2 separate regions of the Homo sapiens genome follow, and region 2 is linked to region 1. The links are contacts of gene promoters, found by promoter capture Hi-C in human tissues and cell types (Jung and others, 2019). All regions are on one chromosome and are shown on one strand. The core of a region is centred on a gene start or on the middle of the fragment in contact, and the rest is flanking DNA. Distances in the headings are between cores, read along the strand shown. Region 1 holds the start of ITPKA (inositol-trisphosphate 3-kinase A). Region 2 overlaps UBR1 (ubiquitin protein ligase E3 component n-recognin 1).

Evidence for each region. Contacts are between HindIII fragments. The study calls those that stand out against the background at their distance.
Region 2: a fragment that was not itself captured here is called in contact with the fragment with the promoter of ITPKA in region 1 in 1 of the 25 tissues and cell types used here (dorsolateral prefrontal cortex).

The regions. Positions count from the first base shown.
Region 1 is chr15:41,492,394-41,495,206 of GRCh38, reverse strand. It overlaps ITPKA (inositol-trisphosphate 3-kinase A), which reads right to left and starts at 1,333. Exons shown (of 7, transcript NM_002220.3): 1 at 791-1,333. The coding sequence starts at 1,279. RefSeq lists silencers at 714-763, 874-1,053, 1,074-1,693 and enhancers at 1,430-1,930, 1,931-2,431. The HindIII fragment of the contact is 23,030 bases long and covers 1-2,813 here.
Region 2 is chr15:42,948,605-42,951,769 of GRCh38, reverse strand. It overlaps UBR1 (ubiquitin protein ligase E3 component n-recognin 1), which reads left to right. Exons shown (of 47, transcript NM_174916.3): 46 at 1,407-1,508. Among named protein-coding and RNA genes, the nearest start is that of TTBK2, 29 kb to the right of the region's middle. The HindIII fragment of the contact is 4,048 bases long and covers 1-3,165 here.

The sequences.
Region 1 (2,813 bases), core at 84-2,583:
ATCCCTAAGTGGCGGGCGTCAGGAATGACTTAACAGTGCCCAGGGCTGTGTTTTCCGAGGGTCAGACCTGGTCCCAGAACACCCAGGCTATCAGAGGCAGAGACTAGCAGAGTGATCCTGCCCCCTTGCAGCCTCAGTTTACCGCCCCTCTCTGCCGCGCTCAGGAGCGGCGAGCCGGGAAGATGGGAGGCAGGGCGCGCACTGGGTGGGCTGCGTTCCGCTCCCAGCCAGAGCTCCCAGGCCCACGCCCCTCCCTCCCCTGCGTCCACGCCTCGTGCGGGCGCTGGGAGCAGACGGCAGCGGCTCCCGAGCAGAGCCTGGAGCGCCGCTCCACTCCCACTCAGGAGAGGGAAACCGTGGCAACGGCGGGGGTGCGGCCGCGGCACCGGAGAGGGGGCGGGGGGTAAGGGAAACTCTCCTTCGCCTCTCTCCTTCCGAGGGTTCACCCGGCAAGGCTCAGCCCCTCCGATCCCTCCTGTCCTAACCCACAGCCAACAAGGTCCGCTACCCCCGCTTCGCCCAGTCCCCGCGGCGGGTCGCCTGCTCCTCGCCCCGCTTCTTAGACGCCCCAGGGCCAGCGCCACGACCCGCCGGCGGAGCCGAGGTGAAAGTTGCCCAGGCGAGAGGTCGGCCAGGCGCCTCCCTCTGACCCCCAGATTCCTCCTAAACCGCGAGAACAGGACCTTCCGCTGGAGGGAGCATGGACAGGAGCGGGTCCTCCGGGAGCACCCAGCCAGGTCCCCCGTGCAGCCCCCGCGCCCGGCGCTGGCCCCGCCCCCGCGGCCCGTACCTGACCCACGTCCTCGCCCGCTTCCAGCTGCACGTTGCCGCGGCTCCGGCTCTCACTGTCGCTCAGCAGGTCGTCCTCCGAGTCCTCGAGCAGCGACGAGGAGCCAGTGGAGGAGACCGACGAGGTGGAAAGGCGGCGCGGCTGCTGCAGGTGCGAAGAGCCCGCTGCCGGGAGGCAGTCCCTCTCCCGCTCCGGCGGCCCAGGGCTGGTCGGGGGCACGTCGGGCTCCTCGGCTGTCACGGTCAGCTGAGGGATCACCGGGGCCGGGGGAGCCCGCGGAAGCCCGTTGGGGACCTGTCCCCCACGCCGCTTGGCCCCGCGGGCCCGGGGCTCCCCCGCGGCGGCGGCCGCAGCGACCGCCGCACAGCGCGCCTCGAAGAGCAGGCGCAGCTCCCCGACACTCCGGCGCGGGGCCCGCTCCAGCCCCGGGCTGCAGGGCCTCGCGCCCCCCGGCCGCGCCATGCCCGTTGGGCCCCCGGGCAGGGTCATTTCCCAGTGCCGGCGCCGCCGCTGAGCCCACCAGCCCGCGGCGCGCCGGGGACTGGAGCGGCTCGGCGCCCCCGGCTGGAGACGGCCCCGGGGCGGAGCCTGCGCCGCTGCACGCCCGCGCCCCGCCTCGGCCGCGCCCCCCGCCCACTCCTTCCACTTTCAGAGAAAGCGCGGGCCTCCCAGGGCCCCTGCGAGGGAGAGAAGGCTCTCGGTGACTCCTCGGGGTGGCGGGGAAGTCCAGCCTCCGTAGGCACAAAACCTGGGCCCGGGCCCCGAGGCTTCGCTCCGCCTGCCCTCGGGGAGGTGGGAGGGGCCGCTCCGCGCTGGGGCCTCGCAGCCTTCCCGGGCTTCGCGGCTGGGAGAGATTCCTCCAGGCCGCTCCACAGGCCCTGTCCCCGCGCAGGAGAAGCTGGTCCTACTCTTGGTCCCCTACCCCGTTCCTCGGGTTCCTTTGCGTGTTCATCCCTCCCGGGCAAGGGCTTCAAGTCTCGGGGCCTTTCTCCGGCCCGAGCTCCTGAGCAGAGTTGAAGGCCCCCGGCTTCCCGAAGAAGCCCCACCCCAGGGCGTGCACCCAAGTGGAGACTCTGCCCCAGGGACTAGCTGAGGCTGCTCCCCGCAAGTTCCCCACTTCCCGGCGGGCAGAGAACAAGGTCAGGGGGCGGGGCCTGGATCTGTCCCCATGGCCCAGCCTAGTCCCGGGCTGCATCTCCCCCGCTGCTGGGTGGCAGGAGCTGAGCCCGCCTTCCTCCTCCTCTGTTATAGGAGCTCGGGGCTTGGAGTCCGCCGTGTGGCGTTCAGCAAGTCATTTCACCTCCCTCGACTGCGGATTCTCCCGTTGCTGCGAGAATAAAATAAAAGACTTGAAATCAGGTACACCACACTCTAGATGTGATTTGTAGGCAGTCCCTTTACTCCCTCCGTATATTTCTGCATTTGTACATTTAGAAAAACCTCATCCAACCCACAGAGTTGTGTCTGTAAAACTAGGAAGACAGCACTGATGTTTAAGAGTTTCAGACACTGCAAAGTGCTTATCAGTGTCATTCCATGTGGATCTTCGGCCACTTCCCATGTTGGTAGTCAGCTGACCGACCGGCGAGGCTGCTTTGAGGAGAAGCCACTGTTTCCTATCTTACCATAGTGCCACAGGAGTGAGGGTCCCCCCTCAGGCACTCAGTGTCTGGGGATGGCTGGGGCCCTGGAGACAGAGCAGCCCCAGAAGGATTGCCTTGGATGCTGAGATGGCCGCAGGAGGGGCTTTCCTTCCCTTCTCTCCCCTCAGCCAGGGCTCAGGAATGGCCCAGGAGAAGGAAAGAAGAAGGTTCAGTGGGAAGACGGGAATCTTCGGCAAAGCATAGTGGCTCAGGCTTGTAACCCCAGCACTTTGGGAGGGCAAGGCGGGCAGATTGCTTGATCCCAGGAGTTCGAGACCAGCCTGGGCAACATGGCAAAACCCTGTCTCTACTAAAAATACAGAATATTAGGCAGGTGTGGTGGTGTGCACTTGTAGTCTCAGCTACTCGGGGAGAGGCTG
Region 2 (3,165 bases), core at 9-2,508, 1.5 Mb before region 1:
GCACATGGCTGCAGTCCCAGCTACTTGAGAGGCTGAGGTGGATGGGCTGCTTGAGCCTGGGAGTTCAAGGCCATGATCGTGCCATTGCATTCTAGCCTGGGCAACAGAGTGAGATCCTCTATCAAAAAAAAAAGTACATGTAAATTTTTACTTTAGATTGTCCTGTGATATCTTTATTTCATCTATCAACCCACCATTTCTCCTGGTCTTTCAGCAAAAGATTGAGGATAGAAAAATAGTCACTTATGGCCGGGCGCGGTGGCTCTCGCCTTTAATCCCAACACTTTGGGAGGCCCGAGGCAGGTAGATCACAAGGTCAGGAGTTCAAGACCAGCCTGGCCAACGTGGTGAAACCCCATCTCTGCTAAGAAGACAAACATTAGCTGGGCGTGGTGGCGCATGCCTGTAATCCAAGCTACTCAGAAGGTTGAGGCAGGAGAATTCGCTTGAACCTGGGAGGTGGAGGTTGCAGTAGGCCGAGATTACACCACTGCACTCCAGCCTGGTTGACAGAGCAAGACTCTATCTGGGAAAAAAAAGAAAAATAGTCACTTATATTTATGAAAAAAGAGTTTAAGTTGCCTGCAGAGAAATAAAATTCAAAGTGGATATATATCCTTTTTCTTTCCACTCTCCTCATGTAACACAGTTTCTGTTACATAAAGCCAAATGTCTTTCTAACTGTGAAATATGTAATCATTGTTCATAGGCATCTTTTGAACCAAGGGGAAAGAATGTATGGAAGCCAAACCCAAACACCTATTTTTAGGGAACCCACAGCAAGTAAACCCACTACCTTATCCCAGCTGTTTATTTTATAATTTATCTGTAAAGTACTTATCCCCCATATATGTGTACGCAAGCCTTTTTTATGTCTATTTCCCAAGAGACATAAAAGTCCCAGGTGCCTTCAGGGTGGTAGTGGCTCTTTTAATCTGCAGTGTTTCAGGCCAGCTCTAACCAGAAAAGCTGGCATACTTCCCTAGTTGATATTCTGTCTGGCTTGAGGTTATCAGACTAGGAGATGTGATTCTGTTCTTCTGTGAGGTTCCCTCCCCTCTCCAGGTTGTGTCAGGAATTAGAATAGAAACAACCCCAGCCACCATTTTCCAAGGTGTCTGTGGCTGAAGTAGGACAGTTTCCTCCCTTCAACAGATTCCGTCAGTATAAATGATCTCATTTCACCAAATCCACTGCTCCTTTTCTATAGCTTCAACAGAAATAGCAATAAGTGTTCTCTTTTATTTAGACAAAACATAATTTAGTCTATTTGTCTGTTTATATTGTCTTTTTACTGAATATCTAACAGATATTGGCCACGTCTTTTCTCTAGGTTAACATTGATGCAGTGCCTATCATTTGCACACATACACTTAACCATATTTCCTATTGATTTTCTCTTTCAGAATCAGAGAATGCCGAGTGGTCCTGGTTGAAGGTAAAGCCAGAGGCTGTGCCTATCCAGCTCCTTACTTGGATGAATATGGAGAAACAGACCCTGGCCTGAAGTAAGATTTTTTTTATATAATAGGAAGGTTTCAGTAAGTTCTCTTTTATGTTGATTGTTTTCTATTTCAGTCACATTATTGTATGTAAACGGTAATAGTTCTTTAATCACAAAAGGTAATTGAGGCCAGACACCGTGGCTTATACCTGTATTCCTAGCACTTTGGGAGGCCGAAGCAGGCAGATCATTTGCGGCCAGGAGTTTGAGACCAGCCTGGCCAACATGGTGAAAACCCGTCGCTACTAAAAATACAAAAATTAGCTGGGCATGGTGGTGCATGCCTGTAATCGCAGCTACTTGGGAGGCTGAGGTAGGAGAATCACTTGAACCCAGGAGGTTGCAGTGAGCCAAGATCGCCCACTGCACTCCAGCCTGGGCAACAGAGGGAGATTCTGTCTAAAAAAAAAAAAAAGTAATTGAGAGCTACTTTTTATTTTTATTATTTATTTATTTATTTATTTTGGGAGACAGAGTCTCCCTGTTTCACCCAGGCTACAGTGCAGTGGCGCTATCTCAGCTCACTGCAACCTCTGCCTCCTGGGTTCAAGTGAATCTCCCACCTCAGCCTCCCGAGTAGCTGGGACTACAGGCATGTGCCACTATGCCCAGCTAATTTTTGTATTTTTAGTAGAGACAGGGTTTCACCATCTTGGCCAGGCTGGTCTGGAATTCCTGACCTCAAGTGATCTACCCACCTCAGCCTCCCAAAGTGCTGGGATTACAGGCATGAGCCACCATGCCCGGCTGAGAGCTATCTTTTAAATGGCTTCAAATTTAAAAAATATGATGTCATTCTTTAGCACATAATTTTTTTTTTATTTTATTTTATTATTATTATACTTTAAGTTTTAGGATACATGTGCACAATGTGCAGGTTAGTTACATATGTATACATGTGCCATGTTGGTGTGCTGCACCCATTAACTCATCATTTAGCATTAGGTATATCTCCAAATGCTATCCCTCCCCCCTCCCCCCACCCCACAACAGTCCCCAGAGTGTGATGTTCCCCTTGCTATGTCCATGTGTTCTCATTGTTCAATTCCCACCTATGAGTGAGAACATATGGTGTTTGGTTTTTTGTCCTTGCAATAGTTTACTGAGAATGATGATTTCCAATTTCATCCATGTCCCTACAAAGGACATGAACTCATCCTTTTTTATGGCTGCATAGTATTCCATGGTGTATATGTGCCACATTTTCTTAATCCAGTCTATCGTTGTTGGACATTTGGGTTGGTTCCAAGTCTTTGCTATTGTGAATAGTCCCGCAATAAACATACGTGTGCATGTGTCTTTATAGCAGCATGATTTATAGTCCTTTGGTTATATACCCAGTAATGGGATGGCTGGGTCAAATGGTATTTCTAGTTCTAGATCCTTGAGGAATCGCCACACTGACTTCCACAATGGTTGAACTAGTTTACAGTCCCACCAACAGTGTAAAAGTGTTCCTATTTCTCCACATCCTCTCCAGCACCTGTTTCCTGACTTTTTAATGATTGCCATTCTAACTAGTGTGAGGTGGTATCTCATTGTGGTTTTGATTTGCATTTCTCTGATGGCCAGTGATGGTGAGTATTTTTTCATGTGTTTTTTGGCTGCATAAATGTCTTCTTTTGAGAAGTGTCTGTTCATGTCCTTTGCCCACTTTTTGA